Regions from separate parts of the Homo sapiens genome. Here regions 2 and 3 are each linked to region 1. The links are contacts of gene promoters, found by promoter capture Hi-C in human tissues and cell types (Jung and others, 2019). All regions are on one chromosome and are shown on one strand. The core of a region is centred on a gene start or on the middle of the fragment in contact, and the rest is flanking DNA. Distances in the headings are between cores, read along the strand shown.

Evidence for each region. The method cuts DNA at HindIII sites, captures the fragments that hold promoters and counts their contacts. A contact is called where the count stands out against the background at its distance.
Region 2: a fragment that was not itself captured here is called in contact with the fragment with the promoter of OVCH1-AS1 in region 1 in 1 of the 25 tissues and cell types used here (spleen).
Region 3: a contact is called between a fragment that was not itself captured here and the fragment with the promoter of OVCH1-AS1 in region 1, in 1 of the 25 tissues and cell types used here (H1 embryonic stem cells).

What each region holds. Positions count from the first base shown.
Region 1 is chr12:29,386,710-29,390,569 of GRCh38, forward strand. It overlaps OVCH1-AS1 (OVCH1 antisense RNA 1), which reads left to right and starts at 2,585. Exons shown (of 2, transcript NR_073172.1): 1 at 2,585-3,144. The HindIII fragment of the contact is 7,391 bases long and covers 1-3,860 here.
Region 2 is chr12:30,780,792-30,784,503 of GRCh38, forward strand. No RefSeq gene overlaps it. Among named protein-coding and RNA genes, the nearest start is that of LINC00941, 13 kb to the right of the region's middle. The HindIII fragment of the contact is 4,641 bases long and covers 1-3,712 here.
Region 3 is chr12:30,841,362-30,844,874 of GRCh38, forward strand. No RefSeq gene overlaps it. Among named protein-coding and RNA genes, the nearest start is that of LINC00941, 47 kb to the left of the region's middle. The HindIII fragment of the contact is 4,014 bases long and covers 1-3,513 here.

The DNA of each region.
Region 1 (3,860 bases), core at 1,335-3,834:
GGGCTCCTCAAGTGCCGCCAGAGTGGGAGCCCAGGCAGAGGAGGCGCCAAGAGCGAGCGAGGGCTGTGAGGACTGCCGGCACGCTGTCACCTCTCAATAGGTTTCAGACTGAGATTAATAATTGTTCCATAACAACCTGTATTTAGTAAAGATGATCAAAAGGTGCTTTTGTGCCATTTTTTTCTTTCTCTAGTTTGAGTAAAAGTTTCAGCAAGTGAGCAGCAAAATTTAGATAAACTAATAAATGAATAATTTTTACAATGGAATGCCCATAAGCACCTCAAAGTCAGCACATCCAAAATGGATTTTTTTTTGTCTTTTTTTTGAGACAGAGTCTAACTCAGTTGCTCAGGCTGGAGTGCAGTGGCGCGATCTCGGCTCACTGCAACCTCCACCTCAAGCAATTCTGGTGCCTCAGCCTCCTGAGTAGCTGGGACTACTGGCATGAGCCGCCATGCCTGGTTAATTGTGTGTGTGTGTGTGTGTGTGTGTGTGTGTGTGTGTGTGTGTGTGTATTTTCAGTAGAGATGGGGTTTCATCATGTTGCCCAGGCTGGTCTGGAACTCCTGCCCTCAAGTGATCTGTCCCCACCATGGCCTCCTTAAGTCCTGGGATTACAGGTGTAAGCCACCGTGCCCAGTACCCAAGTGGATTTCATAATTTATCTCCAAATCTATTTCTTCTCCTCTGTGCCTAGAAAAGTCAATGGCACCATTAACCTCAAACTTAACCAGGTTAGAATTTTTGTGTCTCCTCCACCTTTTCTCTAGCTGCCAATCCCAGTGACCCATCAGTTTTATTCATGAGGCTATTCCCGATCTCATGCTATACACCAGGCCTTCATTATCACTTGCTTCAACCACAGGTGATCCTCAGTGATATAGTCTGATTTTAAATTTACATTTTCAAACATTGTAGTTTACTCTTTCAAATCATTTTTTTTTTCATATGCCAAGTTGGGACTTGAAAGTCTTTTTTTTTTGACAGAGTCTCACTCTGTCCCCCAGGCTGGAGTGCAGTGACACAATCTCGGCTCACTGCAACCTTCACCTTCACCTCCTGGGTTCAAGCGATTCTCCCGCCTCAGCCTCCCAAGTAGCTGGGAGTACAGGCACCCACCACCCCATCAGGCTAATTTTTGTACTTTTAGTAGAGGCGGGGTTTCACCGTATTGATCAGGCTGGTTTCGAACTCCTGACCTCAAATAATCCACCCACCTTGGCCTCCCAAATGCTGGGATTATAGGAGTGAGCCATGGCGCCTGACCTTAAAAGTCTTATATCACTTTTTCACATGACAAGTTTAGATTTCATAATCAGCTGATGAATAAATACTTTCAGTCCATGCACAGTCTGTGCCATCTGATACCTCTGTTTCAGCAAGGTAATCACTTCTATCTATAAAGCATTGTTTGTGCAATATTTTAATAGGATTAATAGGCTCAAATGAACCACAGATCTGTCAACTGAACTTGCAGTCTGGCCACTCTTGTAACAAATATTCATTTCATTAAGCACCTTTAATATGACAAATGATGTGCTAAGTACCAAGTACTTTGTCATAGTGACAAAGCAGACACTCTTACCCTCATGGAATTTGTACTATATATTGTGGGTAAAAAGGGATCCAATAAATAAACTCCCCAAAAATATATGGCTGGTGTTATTTATCTTGATAGGTGTTAGTACATAGTCTTAATAATTATCAATAATATATTACTATATGTATTTAACATATTGTACCGTAGGCCCAATATCTTTCAGTGCAAAAATACTCAGCTGAAATACGTTTTTCATTTCAAATACTTATCTATATTGATTACAACATTCTAATTTAGTGTTTTACTTTCCATTTCCAAATATTCTTTCATCAATATTATCTGTTCTTCTTTTCATCATAAATGTATTTATTTCATCTATTAGTATTTTCTATAATCTATATTTTAAGTCATTTCAGCTCTTTTTATATTTCTTAAACCTTTTAAAAGCATAATTGTATGCTAAAAGTGGGTGAGGTTTTAAAACTAAGTGCCTAAGACATAATATAAATATTTTATTGTTCTCTATTACATTAAAAAGTGGTAACCTATTTAATTCACATGCTATGGTCAAATTTTAATTTCAATAATATGACACAAATAAATACTCAGAAATGCTGACAAATCTTATCACCTGTGAAACTCAAATGTTTTCAGGGGTCATGAAGATAGCATACTTGTCTCATCCAATGACTTTCAAATTCATCCTTCTTTAAAATGTTGTGCTGGACTTTGGAGACACAAATGTGGCCTTCCAGAGTGACAGGCCTTATAACAATCCTTGTAACAATTACTACTTTATTTTTACCTGTTAATATTTATATATTAATAAACCCAACTGAACCTAAGAGAATATCTAAGACAAGTACATTTGTGTATGTGTGTGCCTTCATGTATGTGATTTTTATGTACATGATGAACTGTCTTAATTATAAAGAAAAGGAAAAAAACATGATGCTATGAGAAAAAAATGAACATTCAACTGAGCAGAGCAGAAGATATTTTTATATTTCCTGATACAAAAATCTAACTTCAGTTCCGGTCTGGCAGAGAGCGCGGAGAGACGCAGAACGCAGCCAGCTCCTCCAGGGCCCTCCAGGCCCTCCGGACCCGGGCCGGCGGGTGAACTGGGGGGCCCCGGGACAGGCCGAGGCCTCTGCCCTGCAGATACCGGAGGCCTCTGCTGTGGCTGCCCACTGGCTGTGCCCAGGCCTTGAAGCCGCAGCGAACCTCTCTTTCCCACCCCACCTGGATGACTGATGGCGGCGGCTGCGTCTCCCCGACGGGACCCCGCCGGCCGCCGCGTCTCCCGACCCAAGCCTGCCGGGCCTCGACGAAACCCCCGCAGAGTCGCTGGGACGCAGCGCCTTTGGGCGGCGCCGGGCGTGGTGGGCCGGAAAGTATGGCGGCCGCTTGAACGCCGCGCGGCGGAGGCCATTAAGGCGTGGAGGGCCCGGGAAGGCGGCCTAGGGACGCAAGCAGGCTCGGCCACCTCTTTAGGCCACGGAGCCGCGCAGATCCGGTTCCCGGGTGACCACTCTGTCGCCATTGGGCGAGACCGACCTAGTCCTGACGACAACGGACAAAGGCCTTCAGGGGCCTGGAAGGTGAGTGAAGTCCCGAAAGACGACGGGTGGAACGGTTAGCGGCTATCGGGCGGTTGGTCTTTGTTCTACCAGACTTTGCTGTCAGAAGAGAGAAATGGTAGAATGACAGGCCACGTTTGGCCCGTTGGAAATGCCCACCACCCTCTGGGAAGATTTACTGGCCGTTTATGTAAGGCCTGTGTATATAATATGAAAAAGCTGCTCTCAACTTCACCCCAACCTTTTAATAGAAAACATTTGTCACATCTAGCCCTTCTAGATGGAAAGAGGTTGCCGACATATGATAAAATAGAAAGTCACACATCTTGTAAATTCTCATTTGTTTAAAAGAAATCATAGAAAACACATGTCTTCTGGAGATGACTTTTAGAAATGGAGTTGTTAAGACGGCCTCTGGAAGCGATACGTCCACGTTTGTTAAGTGGGTTAGATGACATGGAGGTGGAAGACCTGAGAAGGAAGAGAAGAAGGTTCTGTGCTAGACTGGTCATATTTAGAAGACATTTTCATATTCTATCCATTGTTTTGTGTGCATTTTATTCTTCACTACTGTGTATATAGTTGACAATGCTAAGCTTTTTTGAAATGTCTATTCTTTTTAGATGTTCTGAAGTGCCTGATATGTTAAAATTAGAGGTAGCAAAATCACATTTTGTAAATACCTTTTTGTTACAAATCATAGGAAATGTTTTTTGGGGGGAATGGCCAAATCACCT
Region 2 (3,712 bases), core at 971-3,470, 1.4 Mb after region 1:
TTAATTGTTTATAATAAACTATGAGGAAGAAAATTTTAAAGCACCAAAATGTTGGGGCACCAAGAGAAAGAACCAGTCAGAGTATTTGTTTTTCCTTTTATTTTCTAATTATCTTAACCAATGCTTTTTTCCTCAAAACGTTAAAAATGGAACTATGTTATGACCCAGCATTTCTACTCCTAGGTATGTACCCCAAGAGAACTGAAAACGTGTCCACACAGATACTTGTACACAAATGTTTATAAGAGAATTACTCATAATAGCCTAAAGTTGGAAACAAAAAAATGTCCATCAACAAATACATGGATAAACAAACTGTGGTATATACATACAGTGGAATATAATTTAGCCACTAAAAAGAATGAAGTACTGATACATCCTACGACTTGGATGAACCTCAAAAACATTGCACTAAGTGAAAGAAGCCAGACACAAAAGGTCACACGTTGAATGATTCCTTTTGTATGACATATCCAGAATAGGCAAATCATATAATAAAAACAAAAAGCAGATAAGTGGTTAACTGGGAATGAGGGGAGGGGACAATGGAGAGTGAATATTTAATGGTATGGATGCTTTGGGGAGTGAAAAAAGGTTTTGTAACTCCAAGGAAGTAGTTGTACAGCATTGCAGATATACTAAGTACCACTAAATTGTATACTTTATAATGGCTAACTACATGTTATATTAATTTCACCTCAATAATAAATAAAATCACCCTCTGCTAGTAAGATGGATTAATTTTTGCAAACTGGTAAGCAGTTCTGATTTTCTTATATTTTTGTTTGTTTGTTTGTTTAATTGAGATGGAGTCTCACTGTGTCACCCAGGCTGGAGTGCAGTGGCATGATCCCGGCTCACTGCAAACTCTGCCTCCTAGGTTCAAGCAATTCTCCCACCTCAGTCTCCCGAGTAGCTGGGATTACAGGCACACACCACCACACCCGGCTAATTTTTTTATTTTTAGTAGATGGGGTTTTGCCATGTTGGCCAGGCTGGTCTCGAACTCCTGACTTCAGGTGATCTGCCTACCTCAGCCTCCCAAAGTGCTGGGATTACAGGTTTGAGCCACCACATCCAGCCAGATCTTATTATCTTGACAGTGAAAGAGGATCTTTTCCTGCAATTTACAGCCAAACCTATGGGTATAACCAAGTGTCTGCTTCCAAGGGGGAAAGCGTTCTAACTCTTTTTATTACTTATCTGGGGGCAAAATTTATGGGCTGTAGCAACAGTCAGTTGGAATTCTAGTATGTGAGTTATACTGAGGGGCAGGCCTAATGGTTAGGCTCTTCTTTTTTAACAGCAACATTAAATAACAGTAAGAATAATTCCTGGATACAGACAGAGTTCACTTAGATATTTGGCAAAATTTGCCATGTTCTCATCTCATCTCATGATATACGTGATTTATCTTCTAGAAGGAACTACATATCTTATTGGCTGTGATATATCATGGCTCGTTTTTCCAGGCTCAGTTGATCTTAATTTTTCCCAAATGACTTTAGACATATAGTCACTACTCTTCTGTCCCAAGCACTGCTCTTGCCTGTCACAGACACCTCCAAATAAATACTGCCCGGACTTTTGAGGGGTGGAAGTTGGAGATATTTGCAAGGGCTTCTTGGTATATTAGTTCACTTTTGCTACATCCTAAACTACCCTAAAACTCAGAGGCTTAAAATAACAATGTTCTTCAACTCACAATTCTGCAGGTCAGCAATTTGGGCTAGGCTCAACCTGGCAGTTTTTCTATGGTCTTGTTCGTGCATTTGCAGTCAGCTGCAAGATATGCAGTCAGTTGGCAGTTGGCTGATCCGCTGGGCAGGCAGGGGTTGGAGGAATCCTAAGTAGCCTCACTTGGATGTCTGGCAGGTGGCCACCTGTCAGCTGGGACACTTGGTCCTTCTCCATGTGGTTTCATCTTCCACCAGGCTAGCCCAAGCTTGTTCACTTGGTGGCAGTGTCCAGAATTCACACAGTGTCACTTCTATCACATTCTTTCAGTCAGAGAGAGCCACAGGGCCAACCCAGATTCAAAGGGGTGGGAACACATCTCCCTACTCTCTTGTTTGGAGATGTATTGTGAGCATTTTTGCAATCTACTACAACTGAACTCACTATTCTTGCTATAGTAACCCACTACTTCCCACACCAATTGCTCCTGGATGCCATCCTGACTTTGATAGCCTCCAGGCATGAGGCCCACTTGGTCACTGATTCTTTGTGCTCATGCTCTTCTTTCCCTCAGCTGGTTTGGGTTACCAGTTTCTTCTTTCCTCTGATTCTACATGGATTTAGTCTCAAAAAATCCCCATAGTTTCTGATCTATTGATAATTTACTTATTTTTTTAGCATGGCCATGTATTCATGTAGAGCTAGTGTAACCATATGATTTATCATTCAAATTGTGACTTCTAAGAATGAAATGGGACACTATAAATAATCATGCTAGGACACCAAGCATAAACTGAGATGTCTCTGCTTAAAGCCCAGTGGTTATAAGCACAGGTTCTTGGACCCATATTGCTGGGGTTGGAATCTCAGCTCTGACAATTATTTGCCAGTTACTTAAACTCTTGGTGACAGTTTTCTCATCTATTAAATGTAGATAATAATAGTACTCACTTTAGAGGTTTTTTGTGAGGTTTAAATGAGATAACTTATATAAAATACGCATTATTTTTACATCATTTCTAAGGTCTCAAGTGGATGTGAGAATTACCTTCTTCATTTAATATTCTATCATATTCATGTATCACAAGATAAAGTTATTTCATAATCTTTGTATAATCAGTTTTAATGACTATATACAGTTTCATTAAAGGTTCTATAATTTACCTGAAAACTCTTCTATTAAATATTTAGATCATTTACACTTTTCCCTTATTATAAATTACGTTAAAATTTCATTGTGGATAAATACTTTGGCAATAAATTAAGTTCTTATGTTAATTCTAGAAAAAAGAATATTATATTAAAGAATATAAATATTTTAAGGATCTTGTTATATGTTGCCAAATTGCTTTCTCAAAGGATTACATTAATGCTTTCAAACAATAATCAGGAAGTTCTAACTTTAATACAACCTCATCAGCATTGAGTATCACACAACTTAATCTGCTGTACTCATTTAAAACACAATTTTAACAAACGTATTTTCTGGTTTCCCAGCCCTCACAAATTAAAAGCAAAAAATTCAAAGCAGTAAAAACTAATATTGGAAAAGGTATTTAGGCAGATTTTCTGATCACTTGGTAGTGAAAAGAAAGAAATATAAATATAAGAAATAAAATCCTAGACATCTTAGATCATTTAATGGCTAAACACATCTTCAGTCTTTAAAGTCCATGACATCATTGTTTGTTGCAGTATATAACAGTTAATGTTCATTGTAATAATACTAAATGATCCATCAACAAAAATCCAGATGACAGTAAACAAATTTTTGACAGAGCAGGAGCATCACCATCTTGGACAAGCCCCTCATTCTAAAGTTCACCTTAATAAAAAAAAAACGCCTAAATCCAAAGGGTATCAGCCTAATGGCTAAGGTCAGCATAAACCACAATAACCACAAATAACATCTCCAACCAGAAACATTCCAAACTCCTCCCCAATCAGAGACTTGCCAGCCCCGAGATAACCCCCCGCCAGCCAGGAAGATGCCAGCTCCGAGATAACCCCACTCCAAGCCAGAAAGATGTCTGCC
Region 3 (3,513 bases), core at 370-2,869, 1.5 Mb after region 1:
GAGCGGTTCCCTCAACCTTTTCCCTTTCATGTCTTTTAAGCCCATCAGGCAAATTGAGCTGATAAGCATTGCCCTGATTCCCCGGAGTAACACTGAGAGCTGATTATCTATACAGGCTGCCAGAAGTTAGTACCTGAAACACCACAGCTGCAATCATGGTGACAATTGCTACTAAATTAATATGTGACAGTGCCAGGTGCTGTTCTAAGCTCTTGACAAATAGTAACTCATTTAACTAGTAGTAGCTGATACAGCATTTTATAAGAAACTTAAATCAAAGTGATTCACCTGTGTTTGGAGACGAAAAATAAAAAAGGCATAGTATCAACCCATTACTATTCTGTGCTCTGGGCAGGCCCAGTCCTCCCATGGGAGGCAGTGACGAAGCCACAGGCTGCCAAGATCACTCTACCCCGGCACCCTCCCGAGGCACAAGGAGGATGAACATTTCCCTCTCCCTATGCCCATTTTGTTTAAGCAGCAATGACAATGAGGAGGCCACATGAGACAATGTGGATATAACTCCGGATCTATTACTTACCCTCTTGGTCTGATTAAAAGCAGGAGCAGGAGGTCCCCATGCTTAGAGGCTCTCTCCAACCCATGGCTCCAAATAACTTTTTATGCTTCACTCAAAATCTCCCATTCCTACCAGCCATTCCTTTCTGTGGTACAAAGCCCTCCCTTCCCCATGTTCCCCAACCTTCCCCAAAGGGAACCAAGGGAACCACAAGGTGGCTGAGCTCCAGATGACCACGGGCTTTAATTACCCACTGTCTTTTCCTTGCAATGCCATAGCACAGGGGGTGTCTGCTGCCAGGCTATCCAGGGGAGAACATGCCAGGCAGCTCAATCTAGCTTTTCCTCAGCTTGGTCAGAAGCTCTCAATCTTAATATTGGACAAAGACAAACCCACCACTGAACAGCCTGGGTTTTCTTCTTGTTTGACTCTCTTGTCCTACCATGTTTAGAAGCCTGTGCTGTTTCTCCTAAATGTATCATTCTAGCCCCTTAAATAGAAATTGTGTTAACTGGCATATTCTTGGTGCCTTTCCCTTTCCCTCTGATATAGACTTGACCTCTAAATTTTCCCCTTTGACCAATACCTTCACTCAACACTTACTGATCACAAAACATGTCTAGAAGAAATCGAGAATATGACTAGAAAAGAAGGTTTTGCAAAAAGACTAAAAGTGGGTGGCTTTGGAGGACAACTACTTGCCCCTCCTAGGATTTTACCCTAGCAAGGCTAGTTCCAGGGCTACTAAGGAGAGTGGTCCCAAGGATATTACCTAAGCCAAGTGACCTTTGCCTTGGTGCCCATCCCCTTAGAGGTCTACAGGCCAAAACAGTACAAAAAGCAAGATGGCAGAGTCAGATGGAGATAATGCCTGGTTTAGAGGCAGGAGGGCCAGGATGGTATTGCATGCAGGACAGTAATGTTTACTAAGCATCTGGGAATAGGACTTCGCTTGATCCAAAATGACTGGGAAAAAGCTCCATGGCACATCTGATAAGAAAGGAAATTAACCCAAATCCTTATCTGGGTTCCTGACTAAGAAGAACTGGAAACTCTCATCACTGGTCAAGATGAACCTGTCATCACTGGCCATTCCTATACAAGTACAGAAATGCATGAAAACTTTTAGATCACCTTGTACATAATGTATTGAAAATATAATCAGGAGTTGTGATAGGTGAATGATGGGAGGACCTCTAGTTTGGGCCTAAAGAGATGATGTTTAGGCTAAACTCAGGCAATTAAAAGAAATTAACTGTCTTTCAGGGGCATGCATTGCAGAAGAGGAAGCTTATACAAGTCTCTAAGGCAGGAACAAACTTAGGGGACAGACACAAAGACAACCATGGCTGAAGCCTACTGCCAGGAGGGGTGAGGGAGGCAAGGGCAGGCACTGGCAAGGTCCGCAGGACCCAGGCCCTATGCAGCTTCTAGGGAGAGGGGTCTGGATTTCTTTGCAAATCAGATGGACAGCCCCTGGAAGCTTTTAACCAGGAGGGTGATGTGATCAACTTAGATTAAAAAGACAACCTCCAGATGGTCTATGGAGAACACCCGAAAGGGGAAGAGAATACAAATATGAAGGCCAAGCAAGAGGCTGCTGTAGTACTCCAGGCAGGATGTGATGGTAGCTTTCACCAGGCTGGACATAGTGGAGAGGGAGGAAGCTGCATCCATTTGGGAAATGCTTTAGAGGTCATCTCGACAAGACTTTATGGTGGATTGGATGTGAGTTAAACGGGAGAAGGGAATCGAGGGTGGACCTCTAGGGTTTTGGCCTGAGTGACTCTGGGTGGATGGTGGGGCTAATACAGGAGTTATTAAGAAATAATTTTCAGGCAGATAGAGAAGGTAAAAGGAGTTCTCAGTCAGGGTTTTTCTTTTAATGAAAGCAACCTCCAAACTATTTCTTTTCTAACAGAAAGGTACTTAAAGAGGGCCAGGCGGGCAAGCTTTGATATGCAAATGCACGTCATTAGAAACTGGGTCCACCCAATATGGCAATTCCCACCTTCTTCTTCTTGTCACCAGGTATGCCAAGTGTCATGGGCACCTCCAGATAACTCCACATGTTTGGGACATCATGGCAGGCCCGCATGTGCATACTAAAGGGCTAAGTTGGGATGGCCAGGTTTTTTGCCAGCTACGTGAATGACACACCTGTTCAAACCAATCCCTTGGGCCCTATACAAATCAGACACCGCCTCCTCCAGCCTCCCGTATAACCAACCACTTTTCTGCCACACACAGGGTTTCTCTTTGCTTGGATCCCCCTCCCTCTGTCTCTGTATGGGGGAGCTGTTTTCTTCTTCCTTTCCTCTTTCTTGCCTATTAAATTCTCTGCTCCTTAAAACCACTCCAGACTTGTGTCCATGTCGGTCATCATGAGACCAAGGACTCTGGTGTTCCTCCAGTCATCGGAGCCATATCATTTTGGTGCATTGGCCGGGAATTCATTCAACGGATTGGTGAGTACAGAGTGGAGCAAATCTCAAACTCAAATCTGTCCTTTAATCTCAAGGCTCTCTTCCTGCTATTCTGTCGCCAAACTTTCTTTCTCTTTCTATCCGTGGTCTCTTACTCTCTCTGTGTGTGTAGAATGTGCAGGAATTTTTACAGCCTAAGGGAGTAATCCTGTTAAGCAAGATCAGGAAATGCTGTAGCACTGGGGATATAGCTCAGGAAAATGTCCTTGCAATCTTCTAGGAACAGAGATTCCCACCCCTCCACGCCATCCCCCCAATGCCACCTCCCCCACCACACCACCACCTCCCCACCACGTGGTGAGGTTACTTGCTACTAATTCGCTGGTAAGACATGGTATTCCTAAGACAATAGCGCCACCTAGTGGAAATAGAAATTCTGGCCAGGTACGGTGGCTCACACCTGTAATCCCAGCACTTTGGGAGGCCGTGGCGGACGGATCACATGAGGTACGGAGTTCGAGACCAGCCTGACCAACACGGAGAAACCCCATCTCTACTAAAAATACA